4 separate regions of the Homo sapiens genome follow, and regions 1, 2 and 3 are each linked to region 4. Evidence: promoter capture Hi-C in 16 types of primary human blood cells and fetal thymus (Javierre and others, 2016). All regions are on one chromosome and are shown on one strand. Each heading gives the region's core, a stretch centred on a gene start or on the middle of the fragment in contact. The rest is flanking DNA. Distances are from core to core; before and after follow the strand shown. Region 1 holds the start of TMEM38B (transmembrane protein 38B). Region 2 overlaps TMEM245 (transmembrane protein 245). Region 3 holds the start of CTNNAL1 (catenin alpha like 1). Region 4 holds the start of RAD23B (RAD23 nucleotide excision repair protein B).

Region 1 (3,173 bases), core at 392-2,891, 1.6 Mb before region 4:
TCGCGCCACTGCACTCGTCTGGCAACAGAGCAAGATTACATATCAAAAAAAAAAAAAAAAAAAAAAAAAAAAAACAAGAAAAGAAAAAAAAGAAGTAATATCCAAACTCTGAGCCTAAATTCGCAAAACTAAAATTCCAAAAATAAGCGAATGTGTAAAAAGTATGGAAAGAACAGACTTAAACAGGAAAGTATAAATATTCACAGGTGGTTTTTTTCCCCTTAGTTTTGCTAGAAAGTGTGCTACAGGTCTAAAGACTTTTCTCTACGGGAAGTGCTTGCTTAGAAAACCACACGTGAAAAGTATTTGAACAAGTCTATTCTTTCTTGATAAGTAATGAAGTGTAGAGATTTACTACAATTTTCCTACGTTTTAAACACTTAGTGTTTAGGGCAGTATTTCTGACATCCAGCAAAATGCTGGTTACATAGTAGGCACGCAAAAAACATTTTGTTAAATGAATTAAAATTAATGAATACATATTCAGATAAAAAAAATTCTCCTTTTGCAGTGCATACACCCGTGAAGCTGTCACCTACCTAGCAGCTAATCACGTTTCTCCAATTTCCTGGTGCCAGCATAATCTGTTCACACATCAAATAAGTGTGCCAAGCTAGTTTTTTTTCTTACCCAAACCTATTCCTTCTTGTTTCCTATTTATCAGAATGCAACCACAATCCTCCTACTCACCCGTTCCTCATTTTATTTGACAAATGCTTCCTTTCCCGCCTGTACAGACTGACACTCACTGACGATATTCTGCTTCTACCCATGTTTCCCACAATTGGTCTCAATTTCTGCTGCCACAGCCTCCACTACCTTTTGCTTGGACCAGTGAATACCCTCTGATTTTCCGTTGTCAGTCGCTTCTCATCAATCTATTCTTAATCTTGTTGCTTCGTTGCACCTCTACTCCCTCACCTTCCACCAAACAACCCAGTTAGCGTAGAGATTAGGAGAAGAGATTCTGGCTCTGAGCTTAACATAGTGATTGATCAAGAATTTAACCTCTGGAGCCAAACTGCCTGGCTTTGTCTGCCATTCGAGGACTTTTCCCAACCTCATTTCTCACTTTGTAGTCAACCCAAAACACCTCCCTCCATCTCCCACCTAGCTTGTGTTTCTCACTTAACTTTTAAAGTCCAGCTCACATGTCACTTTACTCACTTCCCAGAATTGTAATCTTCGTTTCGAACTGCTCTCGCACGGCAGCTATACTTCTCAGTACCTGCTTTTGTACCATTATGTGCGTTTTTTCTCTTTTTATAAAAAATCTCTTTCAGGGAACGCATAGTTCTTGAGGTCAGGATATTATTGTTTTATTTTTATATCTCCAGTAAGTCACAGTGTGACTTGCACTGTGGTTGCTCGATAAATGTTAGGTGAATGACATCAATTTACAGAAATAAATCCAACTCTGAGCGTCTCCCCTTGAGGACCGTGTTTTGTTCATCTGCACGCTCTCCAGGTCCTGCACTGCGCCCAGGACCAAGAAGACGCTGGACCCTTACTAGGAGAACCGAGGCAAGAGCCGGCTGGAGCCGCGGGGAACCCGCTCGCCCCGCCCACCCGCCTAGCGCCGGTGAGCCTGCGGCTCCCGCGAAGCGCGGCCCCGCCCCCTCGGCGCCAGGGCGCACGCGCGGAGCTGGAGCCGGCGCGGAGGAGCGGGCGGCCGCGGCTGTGCCCTCTCCTACTCCTCACCGCGCGAGCGCGGGGAACCAGTAGCCGCGGCTGCTTCGGTTGCCGCGGTCGGTGGTCGTTATGGATTCTCCATGGGACGAGTTGGCTCTGGCCTTCTCCCGCACGTCCATGTTTCCCTTTTTTGACATCGCGCACTATCTAGTGTCAGTGATGGCGGTGAAACGTCAGCCGGGTGAGTGCGGGGCGCCGCGGGCCGGACCCCTCAGAGTGCTCCTGACGGCGAGGACCGTCTAAGTCGGGTGGGTCGGGTGGGTCGGGTGGGCGGCTGAGTGGCCGCTAGCCCAGACAGTTCGATGGTAGAGTTGGAGGGGCGCCAAGGGCCGGTTGGTCTGACTTACTGAGTGCAGATGGGGAAACAGCGTGGGGGAGGACGGAGGCTCTAGTACTCCTCAAAGGAGGCGTGACCTGGGGTCCGCGAGGCCGTAGCCTGGGCGAGCAGGGCCGACCTTGCCAACCGCCCGCAGAAGTCCCAGGACTGACAGAAGCTGCCGCAGCGTTTCGGAACCACAGATATCCGCGCCAGCCCAGGGCTTGGGCGGCCTCCTCGCGGTACCGCCACTCGCTCGCAGTGTCGCCACTCGCTCGCAGTGTCGCCACTCGCTCGCAGTGTTTGAAAGTCATGTGAGGAGACAGCAGGTTTCTGACTCAGTCTCTTGGAGTAATAGATGGTTGCGGACTACTCTCCAGTTATGAAAGTTGTACAAGCACTGAAACAAAAAGCCTCCTGTAGCCAGACCAGGATTCCCCTTCACGCAGTGTCCTAACACCCTGCCTAGCATGTGAGAAGCGAGTGCGTTCCCCTTTTCACAGTCACGACGGACACTGTACAAGCAAGAGTTACCTGGCGTAGTTTCACTATCTGCAGAATGGGGATATAGTCTTGAAACAGCATTTTGAGTTCTTTTAGCAATGCGATCAAGGGACAGTAGTTGTATTTTATTGGATTTTACACCAGGGTGCGTTTGCTCTAATACTGCTTTACTTTTGTAGTTATTCTACTGTGCTTTTAGTTGTATGGACCTCTTCTTTCTTTGAGGTCAGACATTTCTTTGCCTACTTTCTTTGTGTTCTTGCTGTCTTTCATCTGCCTTGCCCTACGGATAGTTGATGAGTGAGGTCTGGAGGATGATGCTGTATCTTTCTTATGGACTACTTACTGGTTTTAAAAAATCCTTAGACCTCAGAAATATTTTTCATTTATGTTGAAGTTTGTAGCTCAGTTTAAATCGTTGGTACAAATTTTGACCTGGATGAGGATGGTATTACTGCATTAAAGTAGAACACATTATCTGCATAAGATATTATTTCTTTGATTTGAAAAAAGTAAGTTTTGTTGCTACTACATGTTCAGAATTTGATTAAAAAAATTTTTTTTTGTATAGGCTGAATCAGATGTTCACATTGTGGTCCAGGGACCCATGGGATTCTCTGACACTGCCAGTTTAAAATTACTTTCGTAATAATATGCAGAT
Region 2 (3,036 bases), core at 106-2,605, 1.8 Mb after region 4:
CAAGGGACCCCAAAATAGTCAAAACAATTTTGAAAAGGAAGAACAAAGTTGGAGAACTCACACTTCTCAATTTCAAAACTACAGTAATCAAAAGAATGTGTTAACTGACATTAAGGAGAGACATATAGATCAGTGAAACACAACAGAAAGGGCAGAAATAAACCCATATATATATGGTCAACTGATTTCTGACAAGGGTGCCAAGGCCATCTTCAACAGTGCTGGGAGAACTGAATATACACAGGCAAAAGAATGAGGTTGGATCCTTACCTCACATCATTTACAAAAATTATTTCAAAACGGATCAATGACCTAAATATAAGAGATAAAAATATAAAATTCTTAAAAGGAAACTTAAGGGTAAGTATTTACGACCTTGGATTTGGCAATTGTTTGTCAGATGACATCAAAAACACAAGCAATAAAAGAAAAAGTAGATAAACTGGACTTCATCAAAAAAATTTCTTTGCATCAAAAGAGACTATCAAGAGAGTAAAAATACAACCCACCAATGGAATATTTAAAAATCATATATTTGATAAGGGTCTAGTATCTAGAATATGTAAAGAATTCCTAAAACGCAACAACAAAAAGGCAAACAATTTAATTTTTTTTAAAGGGGAAAGAATTTGAATAGACATTTCTCCAAAGAAGAGAAACAAATGGCCAAAAAGCAAATGAAAAGATGCTCAACATCATTAGTCATTACGGAAATGCAAATGAAAACCATAATGAGATACCACTTCACACCCACTGGACTGGCCATTATCAAAAAGTGGAAAATAATAGGTGTTGGCAAGGATGCAAAGAAATTAGAATCCTCATACACTGCTGGTAGAAATCTGAATGGTACATCTGCTGTGGAAAACAGTTTGGCAGTTCCTTAAAAAATTAAACACAGAATTACCATACGACCCAGTAATTCTACTCATAGGTAAACAAAGAACTGAAAACGTGTATTCAAATAAATACTTGCACACAAGTTCATAGCAGCACTATTCACAATAGACAAATGGTAGAAATAACCCAAATATCCATCAACTGATGAGTAAATAAACAAAATGTGGTGTGCTCTTACCATGGAATATTATTCAGCCATAAAAAGGAATGAAGTACTGATATATGTACAGGGTTTCTTTCTGAGGTAATGAAAATGTCTTGGAACTAGATACAGGTCATGGATGCACAACATTGTGACATATTGTATGCCTGTTTTTTTTTTTGAGACGGAGTCTCGCTCTGTTGCCAGGCTGGAGTGCAGTGGTGCGATCTCGGCTCTCACTGCAACCTCCACCTCCTGGGTTCAAGCAATTCTTCTGCCTCAGCCTCCCGAGTAGCAGGGACTACAGGCACATGCCAACCATGCCCAGCTAATTTTTGTATTTTTAGTAGAGACGGGGTTTCACCATATTGGCCAGGCTGGTCTCGAACTCCTGACCTCGTGATCCGCTTGCCTCAGCCTCCCAAAGTGCTGGGATTACAGACGTGAGCCACTGCGCACGGCCTGTAGGCCATTTTTACGTGATTACTGCACCTGTAGCCCTCGCTACTTGGGAGGATAAGGTTGGAAAACCCCTGAGCCCAGGAGTTCAAGGTTACAGTGAGCTATGATTGTGCCACTGCACTCCAGCCTGGAAACAGAGCAAGACCTTGTCACTAAAAAATAAAATAAAAATATTTTATTTTATAAAAATAAAATATTTTAATAAAATTAAAATACAATGGCTTATGGTTAACTTTAAGTTATACATGCCTCAATAAAATAATACCAAAACAAATCATGGTCTAACAACCTAAAATATTTTAAACAATTTATTTTCCACTCAGAAACCATCATAGGTTTTTAAATAGATTCAAAGCTGTTTCATCATAGCATTTTTTAAAAAGCTACTCTCCAAAATACTTCAAAGAGTAGTATTAATAGAATGCCCTATTTCTTACCAGAAGACTCTTTTCCATTCTGTTTTTCATAGAGGGTACCCACAGACATCAGGAAAACAATAACCAGGAATACTGGAATTCTCCATGAGCCAGCCAGGGATGCTGCAAATTATTAAGAATTAACATTTTTAGTGAAATAAAAACCTAGTACTTGTTTTTACAAAACTCAGTTTTGTAGTTTGACAGAACAATCTGGTATATATATTAGTTACAGAATTACTTATCAGGCAAAAAAAAAAAAATTTAAGTCCATTAGATAAACTTCAAGATTTCTCAAAATTAAGTTCATCCCTGCTCTCAGAGGCCCCTGGTCAAATGGATAGGGTACATGCCTGCCTACCTTTAATGGGGTTCTATTAAAGAGAGTCTATTGTAACGTATACCAAAGGTCTAAAACCATCCCGAACTCAAACCATCTACTTCACCCCAGAATGACCAGAATTAGGCATAGATCTCAAAGCCATAAAGTCTGCCTTGGTTTCTTGAAAATACCACCGGGCGTGAACTTTCTCTCCCAAGAAAGAGAATGGCCCAAAAGAGCACAGCAAAACCATCAATGTCTCCTCCTCAGTGTATAATGCAAAAATGTTTACAAGTTGGCTGGGCGCAGTGGCTCACACCTGTAATCCCAGCACTTTGGGGGGCTGAGGCAGGTGGCTAATTTGAGGTCAGGAGTTCGAGACCAGCCTGGCCAGCATGGTGAAATCCCATCTCCACTAAAAATAAAAATAAAAAAAAAAAATTAGCCAGGCGTGGTGGTACATGCCTGTAATCCCAGCTACTTGGGGGGCTGAGACAGGAGAATTGCTTGAACCCAGGAGGTGGAGGCTGCAGTGAGCCAAGATCACACCACTGCACTCCAGCCTGGGCGATGGAGTGAGACTCTGTCTCAAAAAAAAAAAAAAAAAAAGTTCACAAGTCACCAAGAAACAGGTCCCTACCCATAACCATTTCCCTGAGTCCACCTAGAACCTCATAAAACATCCCTGCCTGCCTGCCTCCCTCCTCTGCCTTCCCTGAGTTCAAAATGAGTCATATCTGACATACGGGTTCTTGCAGATAAATTCCTCTATCATTCCAACTCAACAAAGCTAG
Region 3 (3,164 bases), core at 609-3,108, 1.7 Mb after region 4:
GACACAGCATAGTGTAGCAAAGAGAACCTTCTGGAGCCAGGGTACCTGGATTCAAATCCCAGTTTGGCACTTATTGAAAGCCCTAACAACAAATTATTTAACCTCAGTATTCCTCAGTTTCCTCTCCCATACCACGAGAATATATACCAACTTCACATGATTGTTATGAGAATTAATGAGTTAATATTTACAAAGTGCTTAGAACCTGGCCTACCACATAGTAAGCATTACATAGGTGTTATTTAAAAAATGGATAAAATACTATCAACTTGAACTCCATCACTCTCTTATCTCTCTGCCTCTTAAAACTGCTCCAGTGTTTCTCGTTTTGGTTGTGTTGTGCTAGTGGAGATAGGCGAGGAGCGGAGGGTCTGACATTACTGAGGGATCCCAGTGCCCCTTCCCACTGGTCAGAGCCTCAATGAGACACAGGAAAAGGGAAGGAGAGTGTCAGATATATTCATCACTGCTCCGTTAGCCATGCGAAGGTGAAGAAAATAGGGATGTTTATTTAACCAGCATAACAGGAATCCAGGGACATGTGTAACTGCTGTTTTCAAATATGCGCAGGGCTGGGCAGGAGAAGAGATAATAGCATTTAGAATTCTATGCAACAGCTACAGGCTCCCCTTCACTGAACATGTTTAAGCAGGGTACTGGTGGCCAGGTGTCAAGGATGCTAAAGAAAGAATTTTTAGTCAGATAATCTTTAAGATTTCTTCTACCTCTAAAATCTTGGTAATCCTAGTATGAGTCACGAAGTGGTTACAACCTAGATGTGAGTCACACATCGCCAACGCGCTCCCGAAGGCACAGAATTCACTCCCCACAGTGCTTGGCATCTTACCACAGACCTAAGTGAGGAATTCTAGCCCTGAAGCTGCATATAACCCAGCTCAGAGAAACAAAAACTTTCCTAAAACTCAGGGCGTCGGTTAGCTGATTGGCAAATACAGTAACGCACACATCCCAAACGGGACTTGGCAAAACGGTGTGCATCTGGATTAACTGTCATACAGTCTCCACGTCACTCTTCCACGAGGCCGGACAGAAGCGGGCAGAAGTGAGCAGCAGCAGGTTCAGGGGAAGGGGTAGGGTGGCCGGGATGAATGGGAGGCCAGCGAACTGACCTACGGCGGGGAGGGACAAAGGATCAGGGAGCGCACGCTGGGCGGGGAGGCCGGGAGGAATACCCCAGGCGGAGGAGCCGGGCTCGGGACCAGGCTGCGAACTGGTGACAAAGTCGGTTATCGTGGAGGGCCCTAAGTACCAGCGAGGGGCCCCGCGGGGGTCCTCTCTGCCTCGGGAGCTGGGCTCAACCACTCGCCCCGCGGAGGGGGCATCGCCCGGCCGGGGGCACCCGGGAGCCGCAGACCCGAGGCAGGTACTGGGGGCAAAGGCCCAGGCCGGCACCCCCGCCCCGCAGCCTCCCCTGCTGCCGAGTCCACTCAACCCTGCCGCCGGAGTTTGGATTATCCAGTCTCTCGCCGCCCGGGCCGAGGCCCGTCCCGGAGCCCCACACAGGCGGTCCGACAAGAACGCCGCAGTGCCGGCGCGGAAAGTGGGGCAGCGGCTGCCTCCCGTCCGGTCGTGCGAGCGGCGGCCGCCATCGCGGGCCGCGGCGGGAAGGAGAAGAGGGGCCGCGCCAGGCGCCACTTTACCTGAGAAACCAGCGGGAGTAGCGTCTGCTCCACCGAGCGAGTTTTGATCTCCAGTCCCGAGTCGAGGGCGAAGCCCGAAGAGCCGGAGCCGTAGACTGCTCCGGCGCCGCCAACGCCGGCGGGTCCGGGAGAGGCGGCCATGGCCCTCGGTCTATCCCGCAGCCGGGACTCCGCGCCGCGGCGAGCCTGCCGCCAGTCAGCCCACCCGCCCGAGGCGGCGGCGACAGGACACTCGCGCCAACCGAGACCCCGCCCCCAGGGGCCCGCCCCCCCAGGGCTCCGCCGCCAACCCTGCGTCCCCGACGCCCGTCACCGTATGTCCCCGCCCACCCCCGGCCTCTGCCCCGCCCGCGCAGTCCAGCCTGGTGTGGGCTCCCTGCAACCCCACCCCCTAAGCCGGGTCCCGCCCCCACATGGCCCCGCCCTTATCTCTTCTCAGACCCCTTCCATGGGTTCCAGGCACCTTCTCGCCAGGGTGGCGAGGAGAAACAAAACACATCTGTCACACAGCCACATGGCCTCCTCTTACTTGGACAGACAAGCGTCCCCAGCAAAGCTTCCCGTCCTCTCGATAGGTGACTCGTCCTAAATCAGCTCTGAATTCCCGCAAAGACTTCTGGAAGCTGTGCTGGGGTTGAAACTGGTAGACCAAAACCAGAATCAAGTCTGTTGGGAGGGGCCTTTCCCCTGGGACGGGAATTCCAGTGGTAATGTCTTCCTGGGGCTTCTCCGGAAGGTCCAATTTCCACTCCACCCTGCTCATTCTTTCACCATGTATTTCTCACAAACACTTTGAGCTGGATTGAAGGGGAAACATTTGATAATGCAATCATTAATGGAGTATCTGGGTATTCGGCAGGAAGTCAGTATATCTTTCACACTACTGTTTAGACTTATTCAAAAGAAATTTAAAAGAAACATGAAAAAGCCTCATCTACTGTTCAACACTACTTCTTAAAACTATTTTTCGAAGTTTTTTCCTAGTGCCAGGCACAGAGCAGTTTCTTCATAACTGTTCATTGCATGAAAACACCAAGTGTGTATTTCTGACAACTCACTTGAGGGGAAGGGTAAGAATCAGTTCTGTAAGCACAACTCTGAGCTCGCACAGAGCCCCACGATGGGGGCGGGGAGCTGAAGACTCCTATTCTAAGGTCTCCAGGAGCAAGGCCAAAAGGAGGTTGTCAGCAGTATGCACGCCGTGAAGGAATTCCAGACTTAAGCAACAGACTGAGAAGCATGAAAAAATGTTTTGTCAACTACCATATCTGCCAGTGAGAACCTGTCAGAGTAAAAAAGAATCTGAGGCTGGCCAGTCCACCCGGACACCTTGGCCTGGATCATTTCTTCTTCCATAACACCAGATTGATGAGCTGGGTACATCAACCTGAGGCATAAGAAAGCTCTTTCCCAAGCACCGTTGAAAGGCGCTTCACAGTGCTTCAACCTGTAGCTTCAGCTTCATCAATCTACCAGTGCTGCACAGCTGTCTTTGGTATTGAA
Region 4 (3,152 bases), core at 255-2,754:
CAACATAGGGAGAACATATCTGTACAAAAAAATAAAATATCAGCTGGGAAGCAGTGGTGTGTGTCTGTGGTCCCAGCTACTCAAGAGGCTGAGGTGGAAGGATCTCTTGAGCTCAGGAGGTTGACGCTGCAGTGAGCCGTGTTTGTGCTACAGCGCTCCAGCGTGGATGACAGTCAGACGCTTTAAAAAAATAAGAATAATCTTTAAAACAAAAAACAGGGGAATAGTGGCACACCCTGGGACACAGACTCTGGAGTCATTCTGTCTGAGGTCACATTGTGGATTTGCCATTTACTACTGGCTGGGTTATTCCAGGTGCATTACTCAACATCTCTGTACTTCAGTTTTCTATCTGTAAACGGACTTTCTACTAATAGCTAACTGCTTACAGACTGTTTATCATGATTTTACATACAATATTCAACTTCCCCCTCCAATAATCAATGAGTGACATTATTATTCTCATTCTACTGCTGAGGATCCAGAAGCACATTCACCCATTCCACAAATATTTACCGTGCACCTGCAATGTGCCAGGCATGTTCATGGGTGAACACAGCAAAATCTTTGCCTCTGTGCAGCTTCAGTCTGGGGTTCACAGGAAAAGGAGAAAGATGATAAACAAGAGATACGTACATTACAGGGTAATTATAAAGGGATACCCGCTATACAAGAAAACAGAGCAGGATAACAGAGATAGGAAGTTGGGATTTTAAGTAAGGCAGCCAGAACAGACCTCACCAAGAAGGCAATATCTGAGCAAGGATGTTAAGGGAGCCGGGGGCAACCTAGAATCCACCAGTGGGGAGAGTAAGGCGACTCGGAGAAAGGCGAGGGGCTAATGCATCCGTTCTAATAACTCTGACTTTAACTCGGGGCTAGATGGGGAAACACTGGACAGTTCTACCCCGAGGTGTGACAGAACTTGACCTTCATTTTAAATCGGTCCATCTGTTTAGGCTAGTGAGAAAAAACAATATTTGAACTCGGGCAGTCCAGCTCAGGAGTCTGTGCTGTCGGGATTAAAGAATCAGTCGACACCCCCAGGGCTGAGCCCCGCAGCAAGCGCCCCGCGGGTGCTGGCCCCCAGACTGTGGTTACCGCCATCCTTTCACTTAAACTCCGCCCCGATTACTCCCCCGCTCCAGGGCTCCGCATCCACTCTGCCGGGTCTCCACGAAGCGCTTCCCGGGCTACACATTGCGTAACTTCGGCAGCCGGGCGGAGCCTGCACAGAGGCGGAGCCGCGGCAGCCGGAGAGAACGCCCCAGCAATAGTCGCTAGGAGGAAGCCCCAGGAGCCCTTGCCGCCCACGGAACGCGCCTGCGTAATCCGGGTCCAGGCCGCCGACATTCCAGGACCGCCTTCCGCCCCGCCCCCAATTCTGGGGCGGAGTCCTCGGCCGCGCCGGCGCAAAGCGTCGCCGCACCCCACGCCTGCGCGCTTCGCCCGCCCGGCCCCATCCCCCCAGGTTTTTCGCGTGGGGGAGGGGGCACGTCTCGGCGAGTCACGATGATGGCGGCCACCATCCTGTGGTGAGCTAGCGGATTCCCTGCTTGTCTCGCCGACCCCCTCGCGCCTTCTGCAGACTCCGTGGCTGGCGCTCGGCGCGTGAGGAAGCACGGCGGCCCGAGTTCGCGGGGAAGGCCGCAGTCGCGGAGGCAGCGGCGCGGTCCGGGGCACGGGCTGGGGGAGAGGCCGCTCCGCTGGGCGAATGTGACAAGCCCCCACCCCCACCGCCTTCCTCCCCAGAGCGCGAGGAGCGCGGGCGACCCCGGGGCCCCGCCAGGCCACAGACCCCGCCCAGCGGCCAGCACCCGGCGCAGGCCCGGCAGCCGAGCTGCGCGGCGGCACCATGCAGGTCACCCTGAAGACCCTCCAGCAGCAGACCTTCAAGATAGACATTGACCCCGAGGAGACGGTATGCGCGCGGGCCGGGGGCAGGGGCAGCCGCGTGCGGGCCGCGGGGAGCGCCAGGAGCTCGTGGGGCCGGGCGGCGCGCTCCAGCGGGGGAAGCCCCGGAGGGCGCGATGAGGGCCCTGGGTCCTGGTGCCGGCCCTGGCGGCGTACAGCGGAGCCGATCCTCCTGTCTTGGCCGTGGGCTTTGTGGCAGGAGAATGGGGAAGCAGTGGCCGGACGCCGAAGGCCTGGTGGCAGATGGCGTGGAGCGCACGCCCGCGGGCCTGGGCCTAGGAGCTCGTGCTAGCGGGGCCGGAGGGGGATGGGAAGGTCCAGGCCGTCTCAGCCGTAGAGCCTGGCTTTCTGGTATGGGTGCACAGGTGGGGGAGGGAGACGTAGGCGTCGCCACTACCCCTGTGTGGACCTGGTTAGCCGCTTAGTTCCCAGAGTTGGTAACCCGAGAAGATGAGCCTTAAGAAAAAAAAAAGTATCAGGTTCCGTTTGCCGCCGAGAGGTGAGTGGTGGTGAAAATGAATTTGCCCCTTTCCCCTCAGAATTGTTTACCCTTTTATTTGCAAATGAATCGTTCTGCTGCCTTCCTCCCGCCACCAAACCCACACCCTTGCGTAGATTGCACTTTGAGGCCTCTTTGGTGATGGTTTTAGCTGTTAGAGCTCTTCACAGCCATCCAGGCTCAAACTAAACTTCAGATTTAACGGGTTTTCTGTGTTAGAAATCTTGGAATTGTAGGAGTTGGAACGCTGCAGCCACCCTCCCCCGATGCCCCAAACAGTAGCAGTTCAAGGGGGAAAAAAGAAAAAAAAAACAAAAAACAACAACTTTGAATCCTTTCTGCAGTTAAAGCCTTAAACATTTCAGAAGTCCACATTATACATTTTTCTGTATTTGTGACTGCATAAAGAGACACTGTTGAGGTCAGTACAACTTTATGCCAAGAATCTAAAAACGCTGTGAGTGTAAATTTACTGCTTATGTTCGGAAATACACCGCCAAGATTGTCATAATACTAAGTTTAAACCAGCAGCTTTCTGCCCAACTCTATTTTTAAAAGTAGTTGATTCTATTTTGGGTGGAGATCAGGGGCTTTGGTGTTAAGTAGACCTGAGTTCCATTTGTGGTTTTGTAACTTATTTGCTATGACCTTGGGCAAATTACGGTTAGTTTCATTCTCTGTATAATAGGGATAATACCTGCCTTGCAGAGATGTGAAGATTAGATGGTATGTATTTACT

Evidence for each region. The method cuts DNA at HindIII sites, captures the fragments that hold promoters and counts their contacts. A CHiCAGO score of 5 or more calls a contact.
Region 1: the fragment with the promoter of TMEM38B here is called in contact with the fragment with the promoter of RAD23B in region 4 in 1 of 17 cell types (naive CD8 T cells); the score reaches 5.7 in naive CD8 T cells.
Region 2: a fragment that was not itself captured here is called in contact with the fragment with the promoter of RAD23B in region 4 in 1 of 17 cell types (naive CD8 T cells); the score reaches 6.0 in naive CD8 T cells.
Region 3: the fragment with the promoter of CTNNAL1 here is called in contact with the fragment with the promoter of RAD23B in region 4 in 6 of 17 cell types (activated CD4 T cells, total CD8 T cells, total CD4 T cells and 3 more); the score reaches 16.1 in activated CD4 T cells.

What each region holds. Positions count from the first base shown.
Region 1 is chr9:105,692,900-105,696,072 of GRCh38, forward strand. It overlaps TMEM38B (transmembrane protein 38B), which reads left to right and starts at 1,642. Exons shown (of 6, transcript NM_018112.3): 1 at 1,642-1,873. The coding sequence starts at 1,762. RefSeq lists a silencer at 1,476-1,745. The HindIII fragment of the contact is 6,405 bases long and covers 1-3,173 here.
Region 2 is chr9:109,104,567-109,107,602 of GRCh38, forward strand. It overlaps TMEM245 (transmembrane protein 245), which reads right to left. Exons shown (of 18, transcript NM_032012.4): 3 at 1,942-2,043. Among named protein-coding and RNA genes, the nearest start is that of TMEM245, 14 kb to the right of the region's middle. The HindIII fragment of the contact is 6,110 bases long and covers 1-3,036 here.
Region 3 is chr9:109,011,641-109,014,804 of GRCh38, forward strand. CTNNAL1 (catenin alpha like 1) reads right to left here and starts at 1,859. Exons shown (of 19, transcript NM_003798.4): 1 at 1,662-1,859. The coding sequence starts at 1,802. RefSeq lists an enhancer at 1,047-1,550 and a silencer at 1,212-2,101. The HindIII fragment of the contact is 6,099 bases long and covers 1-2,215 here.
Region 4 is chr9:107,281,775-107,284,926 of GRCh38, forward strand. It overlaps RAD23B (RAD23 nucleotide excision repair protein B), which reads left to right and starts at 1,505. Exons shown (of 10, transcript NM_002874.5): 1 at 1,505-1,921. The coding sequence starts at 1,856. RefSeq lists an enhancer at 834-993 and a silencer at 1,484-2,043. The HindIII fragment of the contact is 9,258 bases long and covers 1-3,152 here.